Regions from separate parts of the Homo sapiens genome. Here region 2 is linked to region 1. Evidence: promoter capture Hi-C in human tissues and cell types (Jung and others, 2019). All regions are on one chromosome and are shown on one strand. The core of a region is centred on a gene start or on the middle of the fragment in contact, and the rest is flanking DNA. Distances in the headings are between cores, read along the strand shown. Region 1 holds the start of ARHGAP18 (Rho GTPase activating protein 18). Region 2 has its middle 79 kb from the start of PTPRK.

Region 1 (5,501 bases), core at 959-3,458:
ACCACTATCACCATTCTTAGGTGGTCACCGAGGACCCCATCCCACCTTCAAATCCTCCTTCCTTCTATCCATCCCCTCCCCCATAGCAATTACAGTATCTCAATCCTTTCAGGCTAAACAGGGTATCTCCCAAAACAACAACAAGTTTATCTGATTCGTTAGCCCTTAAGGGTAAAAGCCATTGAAAACTAGCCCTACTCCCTCCTTCCTCCCTGCCCTCAAACCAGGCTCCCATCTTCTCCGGTCAATATCAGGAACGATCCCTAGAACTAATTCAGTGGTGGGAAGTTGGGTCTGGTATGGGCAGGCTACGTGACAGCCAGCAAAGGAGCTCACCTGGAGCTGTGGCCCCACACAGGGCACTTGCCGTGTGGGCAGCTGCCCACCCTGCCACCTTAGTGCCTCTTGGTTCTGCTTCAGCCTAGGCAGAGAATGATCTGATCCTCTCTTATTCTCTCAACCCACTCAAGTATGGGCCACCCACACTGCAAACACAGAATAATGAGTCTCCAGAACTGGAGATGCAGCCCCAGACAAAGGCCTAGAACTCCAGACCTTCCAAAAACTTAACTAATCCCTGGGGTTTGAGTCCTACGTGAAAATGAGAGGTTAGGACTCAGTCCTTAAGGTCCTTTCCATTCTCACAATCAAGATCCAAGATTCAGCTCAGGTCCTCAGGCCATTCAGCCTAAAGTCGGAGAATGTCCTGAGCTTGTATAATTTTGGCAATTTTGACTGACATGTGGAATCCAAGTTATGGCTGGGTATGGGGTTGGTGTTGCAGGCTGCTTTACTGCTTAATGATTACTAATACATTACAGAAAAATGGATGAAAACACTTCAAGATCTCTTGATTTAATGATTTAACATTAAGTCATTTAAAATGATGGAAAATGAAATGGTAACACAGCTAAGGCACAAGCACCAAATCTTTTTTATCTTTGGAAATGAATTCATTCAATGAAATACATACTGTGGATGCTATGTGAGAAACAGTTCCCGTCAGCTGGGAGTCTAACACTGAGTATTACAGCCATTCCTTTGATTTTTCTCCCTCCCTCATATTTGGAGATTTTAAAACAAATGAAAGGCAGCATTATTTCAGCTTAAGGCACAGGCATAAGTCACATAAGAACAAAGAAGGTTTTATTATCACATTAAGCATTGAGGAGGAAATGTGCTTACCGATAACTAATTTAGTGTTCTAGGCTATTAGGTTAGTATTTGCTTCTTGCAATCTTCTAGGCCAATATTTACTATTTATATCTTGATGGAGGTAAAAATGTTCAGCTAGTGAGAAGGTCATTAAGGAGAGAAAGAAAAAAAAAAGCCCTTGGAAAATGGAACAAAGTACACAGATAGGGAGAAAGGTACCCTTTGCGCCTCAGTGGTCTATAGAACATTTGCCCTCTCTGCCTATAAAGTGATTTAACATTAACCACATTTCACTCCAGCAGCAGAGTGCTATCTCCTGACAAAAACTCCTTTTTGAAAGCCTGGGGGAAAAAAAATCCACATACACAAAAGAATGTGAAACATATTGCCACAGGCCAGTGTCTTGGGCTTTTTGCCTAAGAGGTTTGCTTTCAGCAAAGAGAGGGGGGAAAAAAAACACTCTAACAACAACAGCTTGTACAGTACAGTGAACAGCCTCCCTGCTTTTTGGCAGACTTTCCCAGCGAACAGTTCCAGTGGCAGTGCCTTGAGCCCATTCAAGAATTCCATTTCATAGGAAAGGAAGTGTTTCAGATAGACCTATTTGATCTTTCAGCATGTGCAAATGCACCTGCTAAATAGCTAGTCTGACAGCCCATATAGCCCTCTCCCCAGTTCCTTCTTCTCTGTCTTCACCAGTAATCATATGGGTTATTTCAGACTTGGACTAGGTGAGATGAAAAGTACATAAAAATCACGCCAAACGTTGCTACTGCTGCTGCACGAGCTCAGGCTCGACGTGCAGATGGAATTCCCTTCTCCCCACGCCAACTTCCCTGTCACTTTCTTCCTGGAGCAGGTAAGAGGGTTTTGTTTTGTTTTCAGCTTCCGAAGGCTTACCTCGAGGTGGCTTCCTCCCCTGCCTTTGCATGGCTGTTCCCGACGGTCTGGTCCTTGCCGCTGGGGTGGTAGGCTGTTAGTACCACTCCCTGGGAACTGGAGAGCCAGCTCATGGTGAGAGAAGGGACATACTTTCTGCGATCCTGACACAGAGAAGGGGAAAGAAGTTCCTGTCTCGCCTGGCAACTCGCTCATTAGCATTGGCCAGCTCCTCCCCGCAGGCTGGCGATTCACACGGGGAGGGGCGGGGTCTGTCCAGGGAAGGGCTTCCTGCCTCTCCAATTAGAAGCTGCAACTCACAGCATGGTTTCAACTCTGGACAATTGCACTCTGGGCGGCTTTGGTTAAAGGAGGCGAAGGGTGGAAGCGACGGGTTGCACCCACCCCCAAGTTAGTCTGATCAGATTAAACTGCCAGAACGTATATTCAACTCATCACTGTAACTACAAGCCGTCTTACTTAGGAAACCATGAGTTGCTGCCAAGGCTTTTTTTTTTCCCTCCCCAATTCCTCTATCTTATAATTTCTGCTACTTAATGTAACATGAGTAAAGGCATTTCTTAACCCCTTCATGTTCAGCGTTAAAATTAGCCATAGTAAAAAACAACGAACCCGCGGCAAAACTCTGCAATCCAGACGACGAGAAAGGCTTGATCCTTGTGTCCGGTTAAAAATGCCCTCATAAAAATTGTGTGTCCTGGAATGTCGTCGTCTTTCACATAAAGCCAATCTCAAATATACGTCTTGTTTTAGCAAAATATTTTTCAGCACCAAAAAGGGATAGACCTACCAATGCTCTGTTAAGTGTTATTGCTGAGAACAAGAGAAGTCCCTGCCATTTGTTGAGCACCTACTATATGCCAAGCTCTCATGGACGGGGGTTTCACATGTATTATCTCATTCCATTCAATTCTCTCTCTCTCACACACACACACACACCGTACAAGATAGGTATCACTATCATCTGTGTTATACATAACACAAGGAAAGTAAGGCTGAGGGACGAGTTAAGTAACTTCACTAAGATAACACAGTTGCTAGTGCCAGAAGCTGGATTTGAACAGAATTCTAGGCTACATTCCTTTTATTTTTCACCAGTATGCTCTTCTTTGTTTTGCAGATTAAGAAACAAGATCAAAATTATCATAAACACAAAAGACAGCTCTGTTCTTTCTCCCCATCTCCCCTCCAAAAAAAAAAATCACTTTTTTGGTTTGTTTTTGAATCAGGGTCTCACTCTGTCACCCAGGCTGGAGTACAGTGGTGATTGTAACTCACTGCAGCCTCAACCTCCCAGGCTCAAGAAATCCTCCAGCCTCAGCCTCCCCAATAGCTAAGACCACAGGCATGCACTACCACGCCCAGCTAATTTTTTTATGCTTTGTGGAGAGGGAGGGTCTCACTGTGTTGCCCAGGCTGGTCTTGAACTCCTGGGCTCAAGCAATCCTCTTGGCTCAAGCTCCCAAAGTATTGAGATTACAGGCATGAGCCACCACGCCTGGCTTCTACTCTGACATACCCAGTAGTCTGAAGGTTTTTTTAGATTTTTATGATTCATTCAACTCTCTAGAATTCCTCTTGAACAAGTTTCCAATTCCATCATTACATAAACTTATTGCTTATACCTTATCATTATTTAAAACAGTCATGAAAAATAATTTCTTCCTCCTTACATACTCTAGAAGTATCTGAAATTTATTTTTGAACCCTCTTTCTTATAATTTACAAAAGTCTTCCTTAAAAGGAATTTATATCTTCCTCCCTCCCCCCTGCACAACTGCTCAACCTTCCCATTTCCACTTCCATAGGACTTTACTTGCTGTCTCCTTTTTATCCCCATGACCTCAACCACCTCTGGATCCTATAATGCAGTCTTAGCTCCAATATTACAACAGCCCTTTTAGCTCATCTCCCTGTCACCTCCTTTAAATTGCTTTGACATTATGATCACACCCTGGCACTCATGATCCCTCTCCTCGCTTAAAAACCTTCATTGGCTCTCTATTGCTAACAGAGCCAGTTCCAGGCTTTTGAGCAGATCACTGGGCATTCCTGCTACCTTATACATACAAGTCTTTCCATCTGCTAGACACAATCTTTTCAGGTCCTACTATGATTCTTTTCTCTTCATCTGACAGCTAACTTAAATTTTGTACCTACTGAGCCTTCAGTAAACACTGAATGGAGGAAAACCTGAATGAATTGAAAGTATCCTTTAAAACTCTACTAAATTTTTTTTTTTTTTTGAGACAGAGTTTCGCTCTTGTTGCCCAGGCTGGAGTGCAATGGCATGATCTCGGCTCACCACAATCTCCACCTCCCAGGTTCAAGCGATTCTCCTGCCTCAGTCTCCCGAGTAGCTGGGATTACAGGCATGTGTCACGACGCTGGCTAATTTTGTATTTTTAGTAGAGACTGGGTTTCTCCATGTTGGTCAGGCTGGTCTTGAACTCCCGAACTCAGGTGATCCGCCCACCTCGGCCTCCCAAAGTGCTGGGATTACAGGCATGAGCCACCGCGCCCGGCCAACTCTACTAAATCTTTATATTAAAATTGGTAATATTAGATAAGCGGTTCCCATGCACATACCAGTGCTAACCTATGAGGAAATGTTCATCAGTTCAGGCAAAACAAAAACTATAAAGAGAGGGAGGCAAAGATTAAAGTAAATTAGAATATATGTGTTTTGTCTTTTCAGTGTCCTTACATGGAAAAAATGTTAATAACCAGCTCATCCACCCCTCCTTTTTTATGTAGCTACTCTGAAATGCAAACATATGGGAATCACTATCTTATACAATTATTGATGGTAATCACTACATTATCTTTTGGAAATTCTTTTCTGTTTCCCTCCCACCTTTTTCTCCCCCCTTACTTCCCTCTACCTCCCTTTTTATTATCTTCCTTTTTTTTCTAGTTTTCCTTCTTCCTTTGCTATGTCTTTAGCCTGTCAATGTCATCCATGCCCATTGGCAGCCACGGGCACTGCATCTCTCATGTGACAGTTTGCGATGAAGATTTTGTCCAGTTATAGCCAAAACAATTATTTAGTTATATTTTTGCCTAATTATGGTCTTTTCACTTGTTTAATAACAAATCACAATGTACAGGTTGAAATGTAATTGTTTTACAATGTCAAAATAATATTTGGGTTTGCAATATCCACCGTTTTTAATTTCTGTGAGGCAGAAAACCAAATGTGATACAAATTGATTTACATAGCTTAGTACATAAAATTTGAATCCTTCTAATTTAGCTCTCAAATACCTGAAAATCCTCTGAGCTTTTTCTCCTTTCCTCCCACCAAGCCCTGTTGCTACTGGTCGAAGGGTATTACCTATCACAGGCAGAGAGCTGGTAGGACTGTGGCCTGGTGTTCATAGCCTCAGATACATGCTCAAGTAGATTAAAAACAGTTTTCAGAATTTTCCCATGTCATCAAAGAA
Region 2 (5,520 bases), core at 1,780-4,279, 1.1 Mb before region 1:
TAATGTTTTGGGCTTGCAAATGGGTCTCTTTGTCCTCAAATGTTTTAAGAATAATTTTTCAGTCATAATTTGTAAAAACCAATGGCATTTTTGTTGAAAATATTTTGGCCTCTTGAGGTGGACTTGCAGAAAATACTGCAACAGCACTTTTGTACCCCCACTAACCATTTCGATGAACTCAGCTGTATCATCTCCTGCCCTCACCCACTGTTTCACTCCTGGTTACTGCCCTCTGTTCTTAGCATATATGATACCCTGCCATGGCTCATTCGTTCTCAGCAAGGGGACAAGGAACTCAAGAACTGGCAGCACGAGAGCAAGTTGCCTCAGGCCAGGGGTCAGACCCGGCTATAGGTCTTGCCTTGTCTCCTCTCCACTTTCTCTATTTCTTTGGCTCTCCTGACAATTTCTCATAGCTTCCCTGTTTGAGCACACATTTTGCTTTTCCCCTTGCATTTCTATTGATCATCCAGAAGCTGTTTGCTGGGGCCTTTGCAACTCCCAGCTTGCAATATTTATGTCCATTCTCTTGATACCTATGTGTATCCATTTCCCTGACATTTTAAAATGTGTTTCTCCTCAGTTTTAGCTCTTCTCCTGACTACTACTTTGCCCTGTCCCTAGATATCCTGCCATAATTAATGTTGAATGAAAGAATCTAATCAACCAAGACTGGAAATTCATACAGACTTTGAAATGGGGACAAAATCTTACATTTGTTTCTAGTGTGTCCCCATAGATTTGACTATCACACTTTGGGGCATCAGTGGCATTAAGTGACAAATTACTTCTGGGAGTTGTAGGATGATTCTATGTCAAGCTCTCCACTCAGATCCAATGAGTCACTAGTTCCTACTTATGAACAGGTATTAACTTGCTTCATTTGCAAACCCCAGCAAGAATTTTGGTCACAAGCCACAGTTGCCATAAGAACTGGCTTTGGAATAAGTTAGGCTTTGGTTCCTATGCCAGCTCTCCCATGTCATAACTTTGATCAGGATAGCAATAATAATAATATTTTTTCTCCCAAGACTTACCATAGAGTTTGGTACATAGAAAGTACTTAACTACTATGATGAGGCATAAAAATGTTTAATTAATCACCGAGATTTAAACTGACTTTTAGAGGAACTTTCTTAGCAGGTACCTGGTTCCCCAAAGTTTCTCATGCCCATGACACGCACTATAACCTTAGCAAAGGTTATCAGGATCTTCTGTTGACTGTGCTGTTCTTTCTGCACTTTTGGCTTCTTGGAAACACTGTCCCTCCCAACAGTCCATGCTGAGAGTTTCCAACTGGGTAATCACATCTGTCTAGTCAGATGCTAACTTTCTGCTCCGCAGAGGTATGTCCCTCAAAGTTCATACCTGAGGAATCATTTGGAAAGATTCCTTCCTTCAATATCTCTGGCTGAGTCATGCATACCTCCTCATCAAAGACAAATAGAAAACAAGGTCAATAGGAAAGCGGTGCTCACCTATCTTACTGTCTGTACCTTTTCCTATTATGACTAGCCTCATAATCTTTAGGTTAGAATGACTTGCACTAACCTGTTCCTAGAGTCCCTTCCTTGTCCCTTGTGGCACTTGCCAGTTGTGATTGCAACTGGTGGTTTTAAGCATGTTACCACTTCAAAACTCCAAGCTTTATGAAAACCAAGAAGATGTATGTACCATTTGACTATTTTTATATCTCCCATTTCTAGCCCAGGGGTTGGCATTATCACATAGCAGTTAAGAGCTTGTGATCTGGAGCCAGCCTGCGTGGTTCAGCTTAAAACTCAACTCCATATTATTTATGTGAATTTAGGCAAGTCACTGAAATTACTCCTACTTCAGTTTACTTTCCTAAAAACAGGTATTTTCATAATAGTGTTTACCTCTTAGGAGAGATTAAATAAGTCAATATGCATAAGCACTTAGGACAATGCTTGGCACAGAGCAAGTAACTATTAAAATAGGTACTTAGTAAATATTTGCTGGATTAGCAAATGCCACAATAGGTCCAGTCATCAGCATTTTGCAGACATCATTTAATCAACCCGAATAGTCCAGTGGCTCTAGAGTCTCTTAATTTCTTTTTTCATGATTTTTTTTCATTTACTGCCTCTCAGGCTTTATTGCATTTGTGTCAAATCCACTTGTCTAAACATTTAAAAAAGCAAAACAGTGTTACATAGTTTTAAAAACCATTATAATTTGACTCTATGAGTTTCAAAAACTTCATATACAAGTGCTTAATTGTCTCATTCGAGGTTTTACATTGCTGATGAAATCCACTCATTTAAGAGGTAGGTAGTAATGCAGTGTGTGGGGTGTAAAGTAAAATGCTAGGGGTGTGTGTGTGTAGGTATGTTTGTTTATATGTGTGCTTGTGTATATTTTTATGTGTGTATGTTAGGGGTAGCTGGCTGTGCCAAAGGTGAATAAGATGAAGTTCCTGCTCTATAGAATCTTGAAATTTAATAAAAGAGATAACCATGCAAACAACTAACTAAATCACAAGGCACAATCCTCTGTGAGCCTGTGAGTATCTGCATCCTGCTCTGGGAAAGTGTAATAATCTCTTTTTGTGTCTACGATTGTACCCGGGCTGGCATCTGAGTTAGATCATAGGCTCCTAACATTTCACTTTATCAGTTCGTACAATGCCCCACATCTCTGTGAGCTAAAAAAACATGTTGCTATCAGCACAATGTGAGAAGAATGGTTTTTTTTCCCCGAAGGGACAAAAGTAGTGCCATAAAGCTATAGAATAGGCAAGTCTCTCAGTAAAATGAGTTTCCCTAAAAGGATTTCCTAAGGAACATCTTAAGGTATTTAAATAAACAAACAAATAAGACAACTGAGTAGAGTTTAAGTCTGTGCCTTTTCCTTATTCTCTAGTCCTGGTTCTTTTGACGTAAAGTGAAACATTTTTGGGGTTATTTATTTCCACCCCCACTCTGTCATAATATAAAGAGAATTCTCAGAGGGGAGACTATAGAAGTCTGTCAGCAGCTGACTCTTTTCTGGCAGGAAGACTATTTTATAAAAAAAAGAAGAAATGGATTTCCTCTCCTTGTAGTTCAATATTTTCTTCCTCTACACATTGGTTAAATTCCTCCATCCTATTTCCTTGAAAATGTCAGGGTTGGGTTGCCCCAATCTCAGACAGCTCTCTTCATTATGATTATCAGTGTTAATGCCATGTCATTAATCCTCACGAGTATATGGAGGCCTCACACTGAATGAATGGGGAAGGTCACCATGGAAACATCTGTCTCCATAGATGACTCACGGCAACCCCCATAACTGCTGAACCACATCCTGTCTCCCAAATGCACTGGATGAAGCCACAAATTTGGCATTTCCTACAGGACCATATTCTTTTTAAAAGCTATTAAAAATCTATGCCAGGGAAGCATTTTTCAGACTCATGGCAATAATACTCTTTGCAATGTGTTTAAGTGGGTGATGCTATGCAATTAGTTGTTAACACCTTTTAATAAATGCACACAGTAAACATTACCTGTGGTTTTTCAGCTCCCGGTTTCTTTGCAGTGCTGTCATCTCTGGAGACAGGCGCTGGCAGAGAGAAAAGTGCCCATGTAGAAAATAAGCAAAACACCTGCATTCTCACATTTCAGAAATGATCCTCCTTAGGGGTTAGTGTGGTCTATCAACTTGCATCACAGTGAAGTGGAGGGGAATAAAATGGTCTTTGCTGGATTTATTTTTTTGGCTGCCTCAATGAAAAAAGCAAGCAAGATAACTCATGTAGAAAAATTACATTTGAGGACTGCAGACTTCTCACTTAGCCTTATCATGGAACGGCAGGATATCAACATTTCCTAGATGGAAAATTAGGTCTATGTTGGGAGATATCAGGCTTAAGTAAAATCACATGACAACTACTGTGTATATCCCAGTCACCTCGGCACAGCTACGCTGAGCAGTCTTTCTAGGGTTGCTATGTTCAGAGTTGGCTGTAACTATACACACCGTAAGCCCAGTTGGAAAAGCAAACAAGGGAGTGAAAAAGGGAACAGACTATTTCCCAGGCTGTACACATTTGCTGAATCTTCACAAAGGCAGGTTGTCATTTCTTGTTTATTTCTTGAATCCTAGATGGAAACCTGGAACTTGAGTGATAATAATAGTAGACCTTTGCTAACTGTACATATATTAGCTCATTTGTTTCTGTAAATGATCATATAATGTGGGTAGTATTCTTTACTTCATTTGACAGATTAAGAGACTGAGGCATGGAAAAATTAAGTGATGTTACCATGGTCACCAAGCTCTTAAGTAGCTGAGGCGGGACATGAACCCAGGCATCTGGCATCCAGTTTATTTCCTTTAACTTTAAGCCACATATTTACCTCTTGTAGAGTCATATTTATTCGTTTTCTCTCCTCTTGTTTCCTCTCCTCTTTCTCTCCCTCTCTCTTTCTTACCATTTTTCTACTACTCTTTCACACCTGCCCCCAATCTTTCCCCTCAAGCCCACACCCACTTCCTACTTCTCTCCTCTCTCCTCTCTCTCTCCCTCTCTATTGCTGGAAGTGATGAGCCCCATCTGGGTCCACCAGCTGGCCCCAGACAGGGGATTTTGGCCTCTCCCAAATTAAATCATACTTGTAAAGCAGGAAAAGCTACTCCCTGCTTCCAGATCTCCCCTTCCCACTGACCCTCCCTTGTCCCTCTGTCGCCTTCCTTCTTTTGCATAGGCTTCCAGTTCTCTTGTACTCTTCTCCCACAGTTTTCTCAGGAAAGAATGGGTTGTCTTAAAGTCATCTGATATGGTTTGGCTCTGTGTCCCCACCCAGATCTCAACTTCAATTGTAATCTCCAGGTGTTGAGGGAGAGGGTTGATTGGATCATGGGAGTGGTTTCCCCCATGCTGTTCTTGTGATAGTAAGTGAGTTCTCACGAGATCTGGTGGTTTTATAAGACAGTTTCCCTACCCTTGCTTGCTTCTCTCTCCTGCCATGTGAAGAAGGTTCTTGCTTCCCCTTGTCTTCTGCCATGATTGTAAGTTTCCTGAGGCCTCCCGAGCCATGTGGAACTGTGAGTCAATTAAACCTCTTTTGTTTATAAATTATCAGTCTTAGGTAGTAGCTTTATAGTAGTGTGAGAATGGACTAATGCATTATCATATAGTAAATTCAGTCTCTTCATTTACATTAAAGTTCCCACTTTATGAACATTTGCTTTTTAAAAAAAACTTTGTTATTGAAGTACAGTTTACCATATAAATGGTGTCGTGGACTGAACTCTGTCCCAAAATTCATATGTTGATGCCTTAACTCACTATGTGACTATATTTGGAGATAGGGCCTTTAAAAAGGTAATTAAAGTTAATTAAGGCCTATAGGGTGGGACCTTAATCGAAGATGACTGGTACCCTTATAAGAAAAGGAAGTGACACAGGGACATGTATAAATAAAGAAAAGGCCATGTGAGGACACAGTGAGAATTGTTGACATGTTGATCTTGGAATTCCAGCTTCCAGAATTGTAAGAAAATTAATTTGTT

What was found. Contacts are between HindIII fragments. The study calls those that stand out against the background at their distance.
Region 2: a contact is called between a fragment that was not itself captured here and the fragment with the promoter of ARHGAP18 in region 1, in 1 of the 25 tissues and cell types used here (hippocampus).

The regions. Positions count from the first base shown.
Region 1 is chr6:129,707,969-129,713,469 of GRCh38, forward strand. ARHGAP18 (Rho GTPase activating protein 18) reads right to left here and starts at 2,209. Exons shown (of 15, transcript NM_033515.3): 1 at 2,056-2,209. The coding sequence starts at 2,168. RefSeq lists a silencer at 2,483-2,562. The HindIII fragment of the contact is 16,000 bases long and covers 1-5,501 here.
Region 2 is chr6:128,597,302-128,602,821 of GRCh38, forward strand. No RefSeq gene overlaps it. Among named protein-coding and RNA genes, the nearest start is that of PTPRK, 79 kb to the left of the region's middle. The HindIII fragment of the contact is 8,498 bases long and covers 1-5,520 here.